Regions from separate parts of the Homo sapiens genome. Here regions 1, 2, 3, 4 and 5 are each linked to region 6. Evidence: promoter capture Hi-C in human tissues and cell types (Jung and others, 2019). All regions are on one chromosome and are shown on one strand. Each heading gives the region's core, a stretch centred on a gene start or on the middle of the fragment in contact. The rest is flanking DNA. Distances are from core to core; before and after follow the strand shown.

What was found. The method cuts DNA at HindIII sites, captures the fragments that hold promoters and counts their contacts. A contact is called where the count stands out against the background at its distance.
Region 1: a contact is called between a fragment that was not itself captured here and the fragment with the promoter of ERC1 in region 6, in 1 of the 25 tissues and cell types used here (dorsolateral prefrontal cortex).
Region 2: a fragment that was not itself captured here is called in contact with the fragment with the promoter of ERC1 in region 6 in 2 of the 25 tissues and cell types used here (dorsolateral prefrontal cortex and mesenchymal stem cells).
Region 3: a contact is called between a fragment that was not itself captured here and the fragment with the promoter of ERC1 in region 6, in 1 of the 25 tissues and cell types used here (lymphoblastoid cells).
Region 4: a contact is called between a fragment that was not itself captured here and the fragment with the promoter of ERC1 in region 6, in 1 of the 25 tissues and cell types used here (hippocampus).
Region 5: a contact is called between a fragment that was not itself captured here and the fragment with the promoter of ERC1 in region 6, in 1 of the 25 tissues and cell types used here (heart left ventricle).

Annotation. Positions count from the first base shown.
Region 1 is chr12:1,311,309-1,314,264 of GRCh38, forward strand. All of the region lies in intron 15 of ERC1 (ELKS/RAB6-interacting/CAST family member 1), which reads left to right. Among named protein-coding and RNA genes, the nearest start is that of LINC00942, 190 kb to the right of the region's middle. The HindIII fragment of the contact is 3,459 bases long and covers 1-2,956 here.
Region 2 is chr12:582,644-585,793 of GRCh38, forward strand. All of the region lies in intron 1 of NINJ2 (ninjurin 2), which reads right to left. It overlaps LOC105369595 (a long non-coding RNA gene), which reads right to left. Exons shown (of 2, transcript NR_134624.1): 2 at 3,055-3,150. Among named protein-coding and RNA genes, the nearest start is that of NINJ2-AS1, 47 kb to the right of the region's middle. RefSeq lists a silencer at 1,000-1,294. The HindIII fragment of the contact is 8,623 bases long and covers 1-3,150 here.
Region 3 is chr12:1,466,240-1,469,434 of GRCh38, forward strand. The region is part of intron 18 of ERC1 (ELKS/RAB6-interacting/CAST family member 1); the gene reads left to right. LOC124902856 (a long non-coding RNA gene) reads left to right here. Exons shown (of 2, transcript XR_007063156.1): 2 at 1-501. Among named protein-coding and RNA genes, the nearest start is that of LINC00942, 33 kb to the right of the region's middle. The HindIII fragment of the contact is 3,956 bases long and covers 1-3,195 here.
Region 4 is chr12:666,633-669,821 of GRCh38, forward strand. No RefSeq gene overlaps it. Among named protein-coding and RNA genes, the nearest start is that of NINJ2, 4.8 kb to the left of the region's middle. RefSeq lists an enhancer at 11-510. The HindIII fragment of the contact is 6,399 bases long and covers 1-3,189 here.
Region 5 is chr12:1,389,324-1,392,315 of GRCh38, forward strand. The region is part of intron 16 of ERC1 (ELKS/RAB6-interacting/CAST family member 1); the gene reads left to right. Among named protein-coding and RNA genes, the nearest start is that of LINC00942, 110 kb to the right of the region's middle. The HindIII fragment of the contact is 7,264 bases long and covers 1-2,992 here.
Region 6 is chr12:989,387-992,537 of GRCh38, forward strand. ERC1 (ELKS/RAB6-interacting/CAST family member 1) reads left to right here and starts at 1,837. Exons shown (of 19, transcript NM_178040.4): 1 at 1,837-1,936. It also overlaps a transcript of RAD52 not described here. RefSeq lists enhancers at 668-1,230, 1,792-2,353 and silencers at 1,052-1,101, 1,512-1,621, 1,642-2,151, 2,357-2,651. The HindIII fragment of the contact is 12,512 bases long and covers 1-3,151 here.

The sequences.
Region 1 (2,956 bases), core at 396-2,895, 320 kb after region 6:
TTCTGTTGATACAACATTAAATTTATCAATGTTTGTTTTTGTCAAACTTCAGTAGTGTTAGAGGTATGAGATCAGCCTTAGTTGATTAGAGGTATGAGATCAGCCTTAGTTGATTAGTAAAAAGGATTTTATATGCCTAAGATAGCAAGAGAGATATGCCTTTGATCTTTCTTATTTATAGGAAAATAATTTATTAACCTAATTTTTATTGTCACTTCTAACCTAAATACATAGTTGTCCTATTAATGGGGACCTTTTTTTCCCGTGAGCATCTGAAACAGTCTTTTTTTTCTATGTATGTGAAGTGGTAATAGTTTTTCTCGTGTATCAGGCAACTACCAACTTATTTTAGACCAGAAATTCTTGGAAATGGTACCGATCCAGTTGGCATAAAATGTGCAAGCACTATTCTATTGATTCCTCAAAAAGATGCAATTGCTTTACTCATAGAGTTATCAGTTATTTTTCTGGCTATTTCACTTGAAGTAGCCATGCTTTGTCTTTTTTTCTATGGAGATACGTGGCCAAAACTAAGTCTTTTCACCAGCTGGATGATAGGAAATTTGATAAAATTTGAGCAGTATAAAAACTTTCCCATTGACTTTATATGATTGAATTTCCACTATGTAAAATTAAACTAATTATTTCTTATGCTACCCAATATATAGTTTATTATTTGAAAACTATGTCCCCATTTTTCCTCAAGAACATGATTTTGTCTTTTGCATCTCAGTGCAGGGGTTGGACAGCATAATTTCTTCTCCTAGAAACACATTTTCTGCTGCTTGTAGCTACTATTTCTATTTTTTCATCAACAGCTACAGGAGTAAGTGGAGTTCCTGACATCTCTGTGTAATCAGTGGTATGATCACATACCCCATATTGACTTTTTCTTTTGAAGTTTATGCTGCTGTCTCTTCAGTACCTTGAGCTTGACCTCTAGCTTTAAGCAGTAAAGGTATCAAAGAAAATCAGTTGCCAGAGTCAGTCTGTTTGCTTGTGTCCTCCTAACCCACTGATGGCACCTCTGACTCCTTGACATTGTATTATTTGTTTCTCAGAGAAGTAAAGCAATTTTTTTTTTCCTCTGTCACCCAGGCTGGAATGCAGTGGCGGGATCTCGGCTCACTGCAACCACCTCCCGGGTTTGAGTGATTCTCATGCCTCAGTTTCCCGAGTAGTTGGGATTATAGGTGCCTGCCACCATGCCTGACTAATTTGTGTATTTTTAGTAGAGACGAGGTTTCACCATGTGGGTCAGGCTCGTCTCAAACTCCTGACCTCAAGTGATCTGCCCAGTTTGCCCTCCCAAAGTGCTGGTATCACAGGCGTGAACCACCACACCCGGCCAAAGCAGTTTTTTTTACATATAGACATTTAATATATTGACTTTGGTTGATTCTTACCTCACTTCCAAGATAATTGTTTCTGTTAAATTACATGTATTTTTAGGCTTGAGTCATCCACTATATTTATGAGTTGGTCATTTCTTTCATGAGTTGAGCTTGTTTTTAAAAGTTCTACTTTTAAAGTCCCCTTCTGTCTCTCCTGCAGCCACTTTCACTGTAACATTTATCATGTTATTCCTGGCAGCCAGTCTTCTTAACTCTCCATCATTACTTTTGGCAGGTTACAGCAGTATCACTTAGGGTTCTCTTAGTTCATTTTTAATGAACATCCAAAAGATGCTCCTATTGCAATAAAACCATAAGAAAAGATTAATAGAATAAGGGTTTATTCTATTAATAGGCAATTTGGGGCTGCTACAGTGGCTCCATGATACCAATGGTTCTGGGCTCTTTCTTTTCCGCTATCCTTAGTATATGGCCTTCTTCCTCCTGCTTGCAAAATGGTGGCATACAGAAGCCTTTCCTACATATTCCAGAATATGAAGAAAGACAAGGGGGAAAAGGGACGTGCCAACTGGTTAAACAACAATCACCATATCAAAGACCCACCCACTAGATTTCTTCTTCTTACTGGCCAGAACTTTGTAGCGTGCCCACCCTCTATACACAACAGGCTGCAAAGGAGGCTGGAATATCACGTTTTAGTTGGGCAGTGACTATCCAGTGCAAAATCCAGATTCCGTTAGTAAAGGATGTTGATGGAGTGGATGGATATTAAACAGAGATTCAACTTTCCTGTTCAGAAACGTGTTATAACTCCATATATTGCTTTAATTCTATCTATCCTAGATAGACTTACAAGGCTAGAATAAGACCTTTAGAGGCACTAACCAACCACCAAAAAGAGGCTAATCACCTCCCATATGTAAATCAAATTGTACAAAAAATTGAAAAAAATACATGTAAAGACCGAAAACATTTTGATTTATCCTATGACGTTTCAGTATTTTTCTGGAAGTATTAAATATTCTAAAATTTTTTTTTTTGCCCGGGTACGGTGGCTCATGCCTGTAATCCCAACACTTTGGAGGCCAAGCTGGGCGGATCCCCTGAGGTCGGGAGTTCGAGACCAGCCTGGCCAACATGGTGAAACCCTGTCTCTACTATAATACAAAAATCAGCCGGGCATGGTGGTAGGTGCCTATAATCCCAGCTACTCGGGAGGCTGAGGCAGGAGAATTGCTTGAACCTGGAAGGCGGAGTTTGCTGTGAGCCCAGATCACACCATTGCACTTCAGCCTGGGCAACAGAGTGAGACTCTGTCTAAAAACATAATAATAATAAATTAAATTAAATTAAAGTGTGTGGTAGTGATAATGGGCTGGAGGGTATGGTGAGTCTATGTTGCTGACATGCTAACCCACATCCTGTCTACTTCATCAGTATTTCCTATTGTATTAGAAAGATGAGAAGGTTCCTTAAATTTTTAACTCCATAGAGGTGATTCATTTACTATAAAGCCTTAAGAAAAATACTTACCCTATCTGGGCCTCTGTTTCTCCATCCATGAAATGAGAACATTGATCATAATAGAAAAGTAGGCAAAG
Region 2 (3,150 bases), core at 22-2,521, 410 kb before region 6:
TGGGCGCAGGCAGGCAGGCATGCTAGAGTGAATGAATGAATGGACGCAGGCAGGCATGCTAGAGTGAATGAATGAATGGACGCAGGCAGGCATGCTAGAGTGAATGAATGAATGGACGCAGGCAGGCAGGCATGCTAGAGTGAATGAATGAATGGACGCAGGCAGGCAGGCATGCTGGTGTGAATGAATGAATGGGCGCAGGCAGGCAGGCATGCTGGTGTGAATGAATGAATGGGCGCAGGCAGGCAGGCATGCTAGAGTGAATGAATGAATGGACGCAGGCAGGCAGGCATGCTAGAGTGAATGAATGAATGGGCGCAGGCAGGCAGGCATGCTAGAGTGAATGAATGAATGGGCGCAGGCAGGCAGGCATGCTAGAGTGAATGAATGAATGGGCGCAGGCAGGCAGGCATGCTAGAGTGAATGAATGAATGGGCGCAGGCAGGCAGGCATGCTAGTGTGAATGAATGAATGGGCGCAGGCAGGCAGGCATGCTAGTGTGAATGAATGAATGGGTGCAGGCAGGCAGGCATGCTAGAGTGAATGAATGAATGGGTGCAGGCAGGCAGGCATGCTAGTGTGAATGAATGAATGGGCGCAGGCAGGCAGGCATGCTAGTCCTGCCTTTAGCGCTGGCCCAGATTCAGGCTAGAAGTGCCCTTTCCACAGCTCAGGGCGATGCCCCAGGGCAGCCAGGCAAGTGTCAGGTCCCTGCTGTGCCTTCACCCTCTTTCTAAAAATACTAACGAGCGAGAGACCTCCAAGGCCACCAAACAGATATCCAGTTGTTCTCTGGGGTCAGTCCTTCACAGCCTGAGGCTGCCACCTGGCACCTGCCGCCTCTGGGCCTCCCGCCTGACAGCTGACCCCTGTCATCGCTGTGACTGTTCACTGTAAGGCAAAGTCCAGTTTGGCAGAGGTGGGGACTCCTGAGCAGCCAGGTCCAGCTTGGCCCAGCCTTGCCCATGCTGAATTGTGGGATACCAGGACAGCTTGGGGGTCTCCAACCCTGAGCCCAACCAAAGCAAACCCTTCTTTTTTGCTGGGGCTCTATTTCCACAGCCATGAAATGGAGGCGGTCAACCCCTGCAAAGCCTCGAAGTGTGAGTGGCAGCCTGGCTTGAGGACGCGGACACTTAGAACCAGGACAGCGGAGTCGAGACCTGGCCCTGCCCCTTCATAGCTGCATGGCTTGGGAGCTCTCTCAGTCACCTACTAAAAATGGGGATCGTAAGATTACAGAACAGTGATAGCATTAACCTATTTTTAAGGATCTATATTTATATACTTAGATCAATCTGATAGGGTGCAGACTAAAATATTAAGCATCGTCTTGAGGCGATAGGATATCAGATATTATTTTCTTTTTTTGCTTTATCTGTATTTTCTAATTTTTCTTCAATGAACATTTGGAGTAAAAAAAAAACCCAAAATGTTAAAGCAACAACCAGATAATTAGTACTTAAGTATTTGTCCTGACTTACAGGACAGTTTGAGAATGATGTTTATGAAAGTGGTTTACAAACTGTAAAGTTCTTTGCAAATGTAAATGGTCCTTATCATTTTCTCCAAGGGCATTTTGGAACTACAGGGATGGGGAGAGAATCGTTTCCTGGCCAGGTGCGGTGGCTCACACCTTTAATCCCAGCACTTAGGGAGGCTGAGGTGGGCAAATCACTTGAGCCCAGAAGTTCCAGCCAGCCTGGGAAACATAACGAGACCCTGTCTCCATGAAAAACTTTTTTGGCTGGACACGGTGGCTCACGCCTGTAATCCCAGCACTATGGGAGGCTGAGCTGGGTTGATCACCTGAGGTCAGGAGTTTGAGACCAGCCTGGCCAACATAGTGAAACCCTATCTCTACTAAAAATTAAAAAATTAGCCGAGCATGGTGGCACCCGCCTGTAATCCCAGCACTTTGGGAGGCGGAGGCAGGTGGATCATCTGAGATGAGGAGTTTGAGATCAGCCTGGCCAACATAGTGAAACCCCATATCTACTAAAAATACAAAATTTAGCCGGGTGTGGTGGCGGGTGCCTGTAATCCCAGCTGCTCAGGAGGCTAAGGCAGGAGAATCACTTGAACCCGGGAGGTGGAGGTTGCAGTGAGCCGAGATTGCGCCACTGCACTTCAGACTGGGGGATGGAGTGAGACGTCTCTCAAAACAAAAACAAAAACAAAAATTTAATTAAAAATAAAAGCAGGCTAGGGGCGCGCTCACACCCGTAATCCCAGCACTTTGGGAGGTGGAGGCGGGTGGATCAGGAGTTCGAGACCAGCCTGGCCAATATGGTGAAACCCCGTCTCTACTAAAAATAAAAGAAAATTAGCTGGGCGTGGTGGCGGGCCCCTGTAGTCCCACCTACTTGGGAGGCTGAGGCAGGAGAATCACTTGAACCGGGGAGGCGGAGGTTGAAGTGGGCTGAGATCGCGCCACTGCGCTCCAGCCTGGGAGACAGAGCGAGACTCCGTCTCAATAAACACATAAATAAAAGCAAATCCTTCTTTTCGCTAAGGCTGCATTTCCACCGCCATGAAATGGAGGCTGTCTCTGCAGTGACCTTCACCTGCCGCCAGCGGTTCTCTCCCCGCCATTCACTGGGCTCTGGGGGCTCTGGGCTTCCCTGCTGCAAGCTCTTAACCCTTAGCGTGAGCAGATGGTAGAACTGCCCATGCCAAGAGGGGTCCATACCAACTTCCGGAATAAACGAGGCCAAAGGGAAAGAGTAGGTTCGCCGGGGACAATCCCACACCAGGAAGCCCCACGATTCAACAGCACCACCCAGGATTTCAGTGTCAGTCCTATCCTCATCAGGCAGGCAACGGTTGGAGGAAGGGAACGGTTGGAGGGAAGGGAAGGGAACGGTTGGAGGGAAGGGAAGGGAACGGTTGGAGGGAAGGGAAGGGAACGGTTGGAGGGAAGGGAGGCTGAGCACAGGCACGGTCACGCTGTGTTGCACCCTGGCCTGCTCTGCGGATGAGTCAGCAGCATCGATTAAGCACCCACTGTGTGCAATGTCCTGAACTCTGTGCTGAGATGATAGCTCTGTTTGCTTTCCAGCCAATCAGCAAATATTTATTGAGCATCTGTCTATTTGGGGCAAGTCAGAGTACAGAGGGCATGGCTTAGAAAGGAATAGCTCAGACGGA
Region 3 (3,195 bases), core at 422-2,921, 480 kb after region 6:
GCCTGCTCGCTGTGTCCTCACGTGGTCTATCCTCTCTCCCTGTGCTCCCCAGTGTCTTTCTGTATGTCCAGATTTCCTCCTGTTACAAAGATACCAGTCATACTGGATTTGGAACCACCCTGCCTGCCTCATTTTAACTTAATCGCCTCTTTAAAGGCCCTGTCTCCAAATGCAGTCACATCATTCTGAGGTTCTGGTGATTTAGGCTTCCACCTATGAATTTGGTGGGGACACAGCTCAGCCCACCACAGACATTATGGGTAAAATAGGCTCATGGCAACAACTTCCGAACCTAACTACTGCTTGGGTAATTGTTAAGGGTTTCAAAATAACTGACTGTCAAACAAGCTCTGGAAACTGCATTCCAAATAAACTGTGGGGCTCTGCCTGTTAAAAGGTAGGAGGTCCTGGCGAATCTGTTATGTCCAGTAATTACTGAATACTCCCTTAGGGGCCATTCAGGGTCTGCTGGTTACTTCAATAAAGAATGCTGTAAGAAAAGCACTGAGTCTCTGGCCCTTTCTAAAAGAGTTGTGTAAGAGACATAAAGCCATAAAATATGAAGTAGGTGCTTGTTTAGCGACTGAATGAAATCAGGAATTTTCCGGAGATAAGATTATGGTATTCTTCTACACTGTATAAATGCTATCTTCCTGCTTTGTTTACCTCTTTTTATACAAAAGACCACCTAGGCACAAAAGGAAGTGCCCCTACCTAGCATAGTCTGAACGAGTGAAAGAGAGTCTTTAATTTTAACACTAAAGATAACAGATCTTGCTGTAAAGTGCAATGATGCTTAATAGCCCTAAAGATCAGGTTGTGATTGATGGGATTTCTCATGGTGTTCTTGTTAAAGATAAATAGTAGTTTTTAATGTTATCAGACTGGAAACATCTTACTCTTTTCTAATGTAAGCTCTAAAGCAAACTTCGGACACTAACATCTTATTGCCAACTTAACAGAAAAGTGTGATGGGATATTGGATAAGGCTCCGACCTGCGTGCCTGAAATTTCAGTGGTTCGGTTTGTTCCTTTGAATGAGGCATCTCTCTGAGGCACTGCCTTTCTAAGTGCAAGTTTTCTAGGAAGGGCAGTGTGTTGTCAGTTTCTCCTTAGCGTGCCCAGTGTATCTAGGATGATACAAACAGGAAGAGACTGGGAAAAGGAGGGTTCAAAAAAGGGAGGGACCCAATGGCCAGATTAAAAACCAGCTTAACCTCTTCATTGTATCCCAGGCCTGATGATTGAGCATCTTTATTCTTAGGATTCTCCAACTTTAGGCTACCTGATACATCTAGAGCAGCGGTCCCCAACGTTTTCGGCACCGGGGACTGGTTTCACAGAAGGCAGTTTTTCCACAGACAGGGGAGTGGCAGGGAAGGGATGGTTTCAGGATAATTGAAGCACATTACATTTATTGTGCACTTTATTTCTGTTATTATTCCATTGTAATATATAATGAAATAATTATACAATTCACCATAATGTAGAATCCATGGGAGCCCAGAGCTTGTTTTCCTGCAACTAGACTGTCCCATTTGGGAGTGATGGGAGACAGTGATAGATTATCAGGCATTAGATTCTCATAAGGAGCACGCGGCCTAGATCCCTCGCGTGCGTGGTTCACAATAGGGTTTGCGCTCATATGAGAATCTAATGCCTCAGCTGATCTGACAAGAGACGGAACTCAGGCAGTAATGCACGCAATGGAGAGCGGCTGTAAATATAGATGAAGCTTTGCTTCCTGGCTAGCCCTTCACCTCCTGCTGTGTGGCCCAGTTCCTAACAGGGCCTGGACCAGTACACGGACCCAGTACTGGGAGTTGGAGACTCCCGATCTACAGTATGTGAGAAATCACATCAACCTTTTACAAGGATTGAGCCTAAATTTGAACCAAAAAATACTTACTTCTAAAAGTAAGTAAGCCACAGATAGATGTCAGAATACAACTAGCAAGAAGGTAAAGACTCATGGAAAAGATGGAGTAATGAGTTTTCTTAGCACTGTATGATACGACAGAAAAGCTGCAGGGGGAAGGCTTCACGAAAGCAAAAAACTCCAACTAGAAATAGCCTGCAGGGGCCAGGTGCAGCGACTCACGCCTGTAATCCCAGCACTTTGGGAGGCCAAGGTGGGTGGATCACTTGAGGTCAGGAGTTCAAGGTCAGCCTGGCCAACATGGTGAAACCCATCTCTACTAAAAATACAAAAATTAGCCCAGCATTGTGTTGCACACCTGTAGTCCCAGCTACTTGGAAGGCTGAGGCAGGAGAATCGCTAGAACCCGGGAGGTGGAGGTTGCAGTGAGCTGAGATCATGCCACTGCACTCCAGCCTGGGCAACAGAGCAAGACCCCATCAAAAAAGAAAGACAGAAAAAGAGAGAGAGAGGAAAGGAAAGGAGGAAGAAAGAAAGGAGAAAAGAAAGGAAAGAAAGAGCCTGCAGGCTCTCAGGGATCACTGTTCTACTGTTATTTTATAAGGCAAACCAGGGATGAGCTGTATTTAGCCACAGATTATTAAATCTGGAAAGAATTTAGAAATCATCTAATCTCCCCTTTATACACATAATGAAGCTGAGGACAGAGAGGCTCAAGATGGTAAAGCTAAGTGGCAGAGTTAGAACTAGACATTTCTTCCATTTCAGACCTTTTCCCACTACTTCCCTGTGCAACCTTGGGAAGAAAGTCCTCTTAGCCTGTCAGAGGCATCTCTGTCTGTAACTGTTCTCCTTCACGAATGTTAACTCCTCTGCAGGATGCCACAGGGACATTTGCCTTCTAGTGCAAGCAGAGTGTTTCAGGAATGCATAACAGCAGATAGATACATGTCTGTGCTAGGTGTTGTGCACTAACCAAGCACTATGGATTTCTTGCAGGGAGAAAAAGGAAGAGTAGATAACTAACAATATCTTATTAAGAGTCTCCTGCAGGGCTGTGACTCCACGCAGCTCTCTTCTCCCTGTCCTGCTGGTGGGAGCCTTGAGCCCAGCTCTTGAGCACTGTCTGGTGTGGCACCCTGCAGGCTGCCAGCAGCTGTCATACGGGCATTGGGATCGTTGGAAAGTGCTGCAACATGGGAGTAGCTGGGGCAGCTGTTGATTGGGAGCAGCCTCCACGGGCTGTGTTCAGTGGGTGATTCCATGCCTTTGGTCTGTGTGGAGCTCACTCTCTCCCTTGGCTCCTTCGGAGGGGT
Region 4 (3,189 bases), core at 654-3,153, 320 kb before region 6:
TTTTTGTAGAGACGGGGGTTTCGCCATGTTGCCCAGGCTGGCCTCAAACTCCTGAGCTCAAGCGATCCGCTCACCTCGATCTCTCAAAGTGCTGGAATTACAGGCGTGGGTCACCATGCCCAGCCAGTAAACTTTTTCTGTAAGGGGCCAGAGAGCCAATATTTTTTAGCCTTTGTGTGTCATATGGTTTCTGCTGCGATGACTCACTTCTATAATAATGTGAAAGCAGTCATAGACAACATGTAAATGAACGAGTGTGGGAGTGTTCCAATAAAACTTTATTTACAAAAAGAGTCAGATATTCATAAAAACAGACCGGAGTTGGCTCCACAGGCTATAGTCTGCTGACCCCTGCTCTAGGATTTAATCAGAGTCTTTGAAGTCTAATTCCCACTTGAGAGGCAACTACTGAGTCTCTACCACGTGGATATTGGGTTAAACACTGCGGGGATATAAAAGCACCACATGCACGCCCTGGTGAGACAACTGATGGCAAGGGAAGCTGTAGTGAAGAGTGTTGCTGCCATTTGGCTGGTGCTGAAACTGCACCTACGTGGAGGTTATCACTGTGGGTGGAAATGGTTTCTATTGTTCTTTACTGCTAGGGTGATTTTTGTGGTGTAAAGCCAGAGGGACATTTTTAGGGAGACTGTCTCTTGGAAAGCATATTTTGGAATATCCTTGAACTTACAGATAAGTAGACACTCAGAGTGACTCAGAAACTACTCTGAGTCTAGTTTCATGGAATGAGGGGTCTACAATGAGACCCTAGGTATCTTGCTATGTAGAAGGAGCAAAGCATTGTTGTAGGGTACTGAAGAAGGCAACAGCAAGAAGATCCTTTAATTTTGAATTGTGGGAAAAGCTCTAGGGTGAAAGCCAGGTGGCCTGGATTCCTCTCTGTGTGCTGAGTCACTGTGTTTTTAGGCAAGTCACTTAACTTCTCTGGGGCTTACATTCTTGTTTGTGAATGTGAAGCTATCAAAAGAGTTGATTCCTAAGATCCCTCTAGCTCTTAAATTCTGTTTCTAATGTGTGTTTTGGCCAGGTGTCGTGGCTCACACCTGTAATCCAGCACCGAGGTAGGCAGATCACCTGAGGTCAGGAGTTTGAGACCAGCCTGGACAACATGGTGTAACCCCTCTCTACTAAAAATACAAAAATTAGCTGGGCCTGGTGGTGCATGCCGGTAATCCCAGCTATTTGGGAGGCTGAGGCACAAAAGAATGGCGTGAACCCAGGAGGTGGAGGTTGCAATGAGCCGAGACCACAACACTGCGCTCCAGCCTGGGTGACAGAGTGAGACTCTGTCTCAAAAAAAAAAAAAAAAAAAAAAAGTTTATATTAAATACTTCCTGTGTAACAATATAAAATCTCAGATACAGGTCTGAATTTCAGTGTGTAAAAGTTGAGGGCTAGAAATTATTGGCTTTTTAAAAAATTGAAGCAGAGCAAGAAGAATCTAATGCTTTTAGTTTAATTTTACCAATAAGACCTTCCCTGATGGAAAATTTATGTAATTAGAAAAATTTTAGGGAAAATTACCACTGTCTGTTGCCCCTGCTCATGGAGACTGAGTAGGGCATACCCACGTCAAACAAGATACAGAAGTGAGAATAAAAGCTGACTTCAAAACATTCTTACAAACTTGCTTATGCCCATTTACACATGAACTCAGCTGCTTTCAAATTCACTTCTCCAGGAATCCCAGGGCCAACAGGGATGGCAAAGGGAAGCTTTCTGAGGGCCTATGGAGGGAGCTGGTAGTGCAGTAAATGTTATTGAACATTTCCATCTTCACTCTTCAATATAGTAGCCATTAGCCACATTAGCCAATTGAGCACATGAAATTTGGTTGGCTGAGTAGGAATTTGAGTTTTAAATCTGATTTAGTTTCAATAAATTCACATATTTTGATTTTATTTATTTTTAAATTTATTTTAGAGACAGGGTCTTACTCTGTCACCCAGGCTGGAGTACAGTGGCACAATCATAGCTCACTGCAACCTCGAACTCCTGGGCTTAAGTAATCCACAACCTTAGCCTTCCCAAGTGCTGGGATTACAAGCATGAGCTACTGTGCCTGGCCTAAAATCACCCCCCACTTTTTTTTTTTTTTTTTTTTTGAGACAGAGTCTTACTCTGTCCCACAGGCTGGAGTGTGCTGGCGTGATCTCAGCTCACTGCAACCTCCACCTCACAGGTTCATGCAATTCTCATGCCTCAGCCTCCTGAGTAGCCAGGATTACAGGCGTGTACCACCATGCCCAGCTAATTTTTCTGTGTATTTTCAGTAGAGACGTGGCTTCACCATGTTGACCAGGCTGGTCTCGAACTCCTGACCTCAGGTGATCCGCCCACCTCGACCTCCCAAAGTGCTAGAATTACAGGCGTGAGCCACTGCGCCCAGCCTCTAAGTTCACATTTACGTGGTTACATTTAAGTAGCTAGTAGCCACCTTCTCGGCCAGTGGAGCTATCAACCAAAATTCCACATTTAGAATCCTGTCATTGTGTATGTGTCACTTCTATTTGGCTGCTCACGCCTTGATAGATGCTCACGGGGCCTGACTTCACACAAATAGGAAGTCAGGGCACACAGCTCTCGTGGGAATGCCCCACGAGGCCTGGGGATGCTCTTGGTGGTGGTGAGTAAAATTTCCCTTCACTCTTTCACATTCAGAGGAGGGGGATTTTAACTGTGACTCACTGTTCAATGAATGATTAAAAACAGAGCCTCCGGTTGGGCGCGGTGGCTCACACCTGTCATCCCAGCACTTTGGGAGGCTGAGGCGGGTGGATCACGAGGTCAGGAGTTCAAGACCAGCCTGGCCAAGATGGTGAGACCCCGTCTCTATTAAAAATACAAAAAAAGTAGCTGGGCATGGTGGCGCGCGCCTGTAGTCCCAGCTACTTGGGAGGCTGAGGCAGGAGAATCGCTTGAACCCGGGAGGGGGAGGTTGCAGTGAGCTGAGATCACACCACTGCACTCCAGCCTGGCGACAGAGCAAGACTCCGTCTCAGAAAAAAAAAAAAGGTGCCTGGCACTCTCTTGGTGGCTTAAGGGAGAGGAATAGATGATCTTTTCTTAGTGATAGGAGAGAGACAAAGATCAGTGGTTTGCAAACTTTTTAAAGATAAGAAATCCTTTTCTTAAACGTAATCTTATGTGGAAGTTAACATAAAGCAG
Region 5 (2,992 bases), core at 10-2,509, 400 kb after region 6:
TCAGAACAGAAATACTACTTAAACCCATGAAAATGGAATAGCTTGCTTAAGAGAGAATATAGGCAAGTTATACTTACTTTTTACTGTTTTCTGACACATACTAAAATATTAACACAGGCCATTCTTTTCATCCTTACAGATTATAGTTCAATGAGCATATGCCCTCTGTAAGCCTGTTGGTAATGGATTTCAGAATTGGCTCTACTGGATATGCATTGCTAGGAGTTTTTATGCAGTTCTAGGGTTTTTAAGACCTTTTTTTCATGTCTTACATGTGTTGAAAATGCTTTAAGCATTTATGGCACAATATATCACAGGTGATTGTGATCTTATATACCCCATAGCCATTTTGCTGATTTGATATATAAATTAATAAAGCTCTGTTCCTGGAAATGAGGATAATGCTACATGAATACTCCAAAGAGTTAACATAAATGTAGTCTTGAAAAGCACTCCCTCAAGAAAAGAATTCTGTCCAAATCCTATTAATTCCCGGGTATTTTGCCTATTTTCCTTAAAAGCACCTTACATTAAAAAATCTGTTTTGCATTCAGTCTCTAAGCAAAAATATGTAGTGCCTTTAAAGAAACAACAACAAAAAAACCCTTGAGTAGGTTAATCTCTCCATTTTAAGTTACACACTTATTTCATGAACTAATCAAACTTGTCGTTAAGGCTTCATTAATTTCCTCTCCACTCATGGGGTGGGATGGTTGAATCATAGCGGGGCTGTGTGTGTCTGGAAGTGACCTTTGTATATTTGGGTGGTAAATTATACTTCAAAATACCAGTAGACATTTTATTAAAATTTTTATTTTCTTTGGTAGATTATTTCCTTCTAATTATAGTAGTAAACACTGGTATGTTATGATTAGTGATTAGCTTATAACAAACATCTAAACAGGGATAAGTCAGCCTGTTTAGCGATAAACCTGTCTCTTGATATATTTAGAACTGATCACTAGCCAGTATGGCTCCATATATTTCTAGGACAGTGTAACCCACAGTGACATAAATTAAAATTTTAAAAAAATCAAGGATACAGTAAATACCAACTGTCTATTAATATTGATTAATAAATCAATACATTTAAAAAATAATAAAGTTTAATTTTTCAAATTGATAAAAGTAAAAATTACTAAATTGATACATTACTGAGTTAATAAAATTAACATTTACTACTATTAATCTAAATGGGAAGGTGAAACATGGGACAAAGAATGAATTTTTCTGAACCTAAAAACTGGAAGGAAAGTCAAAAGTACTTACCAGAGCATGCTTAGGATGCCCAAAGGTACTGTCAGTTCATCTCCCGGAGGTGGGGTTAGTTTAGTCACCACCAAAATAAAACTGTGGTCAAACCATGAATTTTGGAGTATTAAATGAACCCAGTTGTGGATTCACTATGGTCAAATTACTACAAGAACTGGGACTGGAATAGGTTGCCCTGCCCTAGAAGTTTCCTAGTTGATTGAGTTGAGGTCTGATTAAGTTGAGGTCACTTCCAGACACACACAGTCGCACTCTGATTCAACCATCCCACTCCAGGAATGGAGAGGAAATTAATGAAGCCTTACTGACAAGTTTGATGAGGGAGGGAGCAGCTATGTTGGCATGTCTTCTAAGAGCTGTTTCTGACTTCTGGTGCCCAGCAGTAGTCCAGCTATGGTAGCTGATCAGTTGCTGCCTAATTACCTAATCCTATTGGCAAGATGAATGTTTCAGTTCGCTGCTGTGCCTTTAATCATAATTGTCTTTTATTCATTCAGTTTGAGGTCTTCCTGGTTCTTGGGATGTTGAGTGATTCTCAGTTGAAACCTGGACATGTTGGATGTTATGCGATATGACTCTGGGTCTTACTTAGACTTCTGTTTTAGCTGGTTTTCTTTGACACCACTCCAGCAGGGGAAGAATGGGGTGCTGCCTCAGTATTGCCCAGTGGAGGTAGAAGTCCAGTTTCTCCCACTTGGACCCTGCTGACACTCAAGGGGTGGAGGCTTCTTGTTACTCCTAGGTGGAGATGGGTATTCATGTCCCCACTAGGCTTCACTGGTGTATCCCTGCCTGGTTAGGGTAGGAAGGCCTCCACTAACACAGTGGGGGTGAAGGAAGGGGGGCCTGGTTACTGCTGTGCGGTAGTGAAGGTCCGACTCCACCAGGAGACACGGCTGTTACTGCTCCATGGAGGTGGAATTCTAGAATCCTCACCTAGTCTCTAGTGACACTGTGGAGGGGAGACTTCATTGCTGATGGTTGGAGATTATAGCCCTGCCTCCCTCGGCTTTCCCTGACACCTTCCAGTGGAGCAAGGAGAGGCTGAAGCACCTCCTCACAACCTGGTGAGCATGGGGCCCGCCGCTTGGTCTTTACTGACATGAGTGACAGTGGGACCACATGGTCTTTGGAATAGAGTGATTGTTGTCCCACAGGTTTCTATGTTGCTAGGCTGTCCCTTTCCTTTGGAGGCTTCTTTGGCTAGAGAGAGTGGGCTCCTGTTGAAGCTTTTTTGGTCTGTGCCTGTTGGCATTTCCTGGTTGTTGGCTTCTTCAGCTCTACCTCTGGATATATAAGGCAGAAAGATCCAGGGAGCTGCAGGTCACAGCACTCCTGACTGGTCTGCCTTCTCTCTGCCTTTTTAGTGTTTGTCTGTGTGTATAGTTCTTGTTGTACTTTTATACTTAGTGTGCTGGAGAAAAAAAAATATTCCTGATACTTCTTAAAGACAGTAAGGCAGACTATTCAGGGGACCACTGAGATGAGGATTTGTGTTAGAGGGCAGAGATTGGGCTCAACTCAGAATACACAAGGACCAATGGAGATGTGTAGCGAAGGAGCAGGGTGGGGGTCAGTGATGGAAAATTACTAAGAAGAAACGTCATGGCTGGGGGATTCTTGCCAGACCTACTCAACAGGAGTTGCTGAAGACAAGCCAGAGAGATGACATATTGATAGTGGGAGATGAGGAATTTGATCAGATCTCATGAGTGATCAG
Region 6 (3,151 bases), core at 587-3,086:
TCATTTTCTATTTTGTATCACTTTTATTTATCATCATTTTATGGGGTCTCAGGAAGAAGAGACAGTAAATACATGTGCTCGGTTAGCTAGCTTTAATCAAAAATCCTAAACGTAGGTTTTAAAAAAGATAACTGGAGCAGGGCAGGAAATAATATTTTTTGCCAGTGTGGTGGCAAAAAATAAAAAACAAAAATCTGAATCTGTGTTAGGACAGTATTTCCGTGTATAACATAGCGCTTAGCAACTTAATTCTCCAGATCCACATATTTTAAGGACATGATGTATCTCAGACACCTACTTCAAACCTCACTTTACAGTTAAGTAAGACCACAAGTAGAATGAATTGCCTGAGGCCACACAAGTAGACAGTGGGAGAATGAGAACAGAAATATCTATTGACTCCTAGTTGAATTTTCTCTTACCTTACCACACTGCTAGGGAGTAACAAGATGGGCAGATCACGAGTCAGATGAGAAAGGTCATGAAAAATAGTCAAAGGATGACTTTTCCTGGGTAAATAGCCGGATGTCCAAGAAATGAAAGGCTGGTCTGGCAGCAGCACATCGTCTAACAGTTGGTAGTCATATGTGGGAAGTACTGAAGGGGGAGATGACAGCAGGCCCAGAAACTGCAATGATCCAAGTGCATGTCGATCCTGGGAGGGAACAGTTAAGAGTCCGGGCAGGATGAAACAGTAGAAACTGGTGAGTGAATGAATGTGAAGGCTGAGGAGCGACTGCAATTTGTTAATGGGATTATGAGGCAGTATAAAGTGGTTAATTACGGTGGCGGAGGTAAGCAGGAGTAAAATGATGGCTTTTAACTCCTCTCAAGGACACCGAAAATTATTTTAATAAACACTGGAAGGCTGGGAATAAATATAATTCACACCATTCTTACTTTCTTGGTTTAGAGATAGCTTATCTACATCCTTAAATTAATGGCTGTAGCTACCCTCTGCATGGCTCCAAAAAAAAAACAAAAAACAAAAAACAAAACCAAAGCCGGCTGCGAGTCTGCACGAGAAAATCGGGTTGCACCAGGCCCCAGCCGCCCGCCGATTCGCTTAGCTGTCGGAGGCTAAATAAACAGCTCCCGAAGCAGCGTTTGGCACAGCGCAGGGTCGGAACGTGGACACTAATTTCCGCCCACGCTCCCCGCGTCCTGGCGGGATCACCACAGACACGACGTCCATTGCTGGGGTCCTCGGCGATGCCCGTGTGCGCAGCCCCGCGAGTCTCAGGTCAGAAGACCACTAATTTCGCGGCCGCGTTCCACGAAGCTAAGGGGCAAAAAACCAGCTTTCTTGGGACAAAGCGTCCCCCCAGCAGCCAGGGTCGATCCCGGCGCTGCTCCCGCGGCGCTTGGCTGCCCCGGGCGTAACGGGCCACGAGAAGTAGGGGGTGGGGCGCCGCTTAGGTTTGGGAAGACACGAAGCGGCTCCTCGGGCTTCCAGCGTCCACTTCCTACGGCAAGCAGGAGGAGACAAGCGCCACCCTGCGCTCGCGGAGCCGACCCCGGCTCTCCCCTCCCGTGGCCGCAGGGGTCGTGTGTGTGTGTGTGTGAGTGTGTGTGTGTGTGCAGGGACGCTCCGCGCCCATCACTCTGTTTCGGTGCTAATCGACCGCCGTGGCGCCGATTTCCCCCGCTTCCCAGTTCCTCACCCGCGTGCCCCGGAAGGCGCCCGGAGGCCCCCGGGCCGCCGCGTCACGCTCCCGGGAGGCTGAGGGAAAGGGAGGCAGCCGAGCCGGGAGCCCGGGGAGGCGCGCTGCGCCCCGCGGCGGGGCTGGGGGCGGGGCTAGGTGTCTCGCGCAGGGGGCGGGGCGCGGTGACGTCGCGGGCGCCTGGGCCGTGCTGTGGCGGCGGCGGCGGCGGTAGTGGCGGCGGCGGCGGTGCCTGGGCGGCAGCAGCAGCAGTAGCGGCAGCCCTGAGGACGGTGAGACGGCCGCGGCGGCGGCGACAGCGCGGAAGTCGCGCGGGACCCAGAGCTTCCCCCCTGTCGCTAGTGCTGAGGCTTTCGCCTTTCCTACCCAGCTTCTTGCTCACGGCCCGGGCTGGGCTGGGCAGGGCAACGCGCCCCCGGGGAGGGGCGGAGCTGTAGGTGAGGCTTCGCGACCCCCTCCCCCTCCTCGGCAGCCCGGGGGGTGGGGAGGGGCGGGCCCCACCCAGACCACCGGCGCCCACCCGCGGGCTCCACCCAGCCGGGCTCCGGGATCGGGCGGGAGCCGAGGCGGTAGATGTGGGGATCCTGGGGCGGGAGGTGGGGGAGTGGGGACTGGGGCTCTGGGCACTTGGGGAGCGGAGGGGGGGAGGCTTAGGACTAGTGAAGCCGCGGACGAGGTAGTGGGGAGACGGAGAAATTGGGGAGCCATGAGGTTGGGGTGCGGTCAGGGTGGATCTTTGGGTTAGGTGAGTGATGTAAAATGCTGAAGATGATTCTTTTCTTTTCGATGAAATGGTGAGATAAAAGATGAAGTGTATTTCAAAAGGACGATGAGCTGTGCATGTTGCCTTTGAGGCAGTTGCAGAACCTATTTTATTGCACTAGATCTCACGTTTCTACTTTAGGGTTCGATTCTTTTTCTTCTGGCGGGGTGGGTGGGGGGTCGGAGAGGGAAGAGAATCCCCTTACTTTGGCTCAGGTAAATTGTGAGCGTGGATGTATCTGAAAGTTTTACACCGAAGAAGAGGGAGATCTTCGGTTTAGACAACTTCGTTCCGGCAGCCACCATTTGGGTCGCATTACGCTTAGCTCCTTCAAGGTGGTGTCTTCCAGTTTTTTTTCCCCCCAATGCCTAAAAGATCTCTTTATACCACCCTTTTACAGGCTTTATCCTGGCCCCTTGAGAGAAGGCCCCAAACTCAGGTGGTTGCTTTGGAAGGCACATTGCTGAATAATAGTTGCAGGTGGTTGTGGTTGACTGCTTTGGGTGGATAAAGTGAACAATTGGAATAGTTCTGTTGGAGCTAATTATATGAAAAATGCTTAAATGTTTTAAAGTACAACCGTCTTTTATAGCGTGTTGCTTGCTCAGTACACCTTGACTTTTAGACATTTTGTGTTCAGTGCTAAATTGTTGAAATTTTATTTCTCATTTGCAGTTATGTTTCTTGCAGTCTTTATTAAAACACTTTAAAATGAAATGGAACT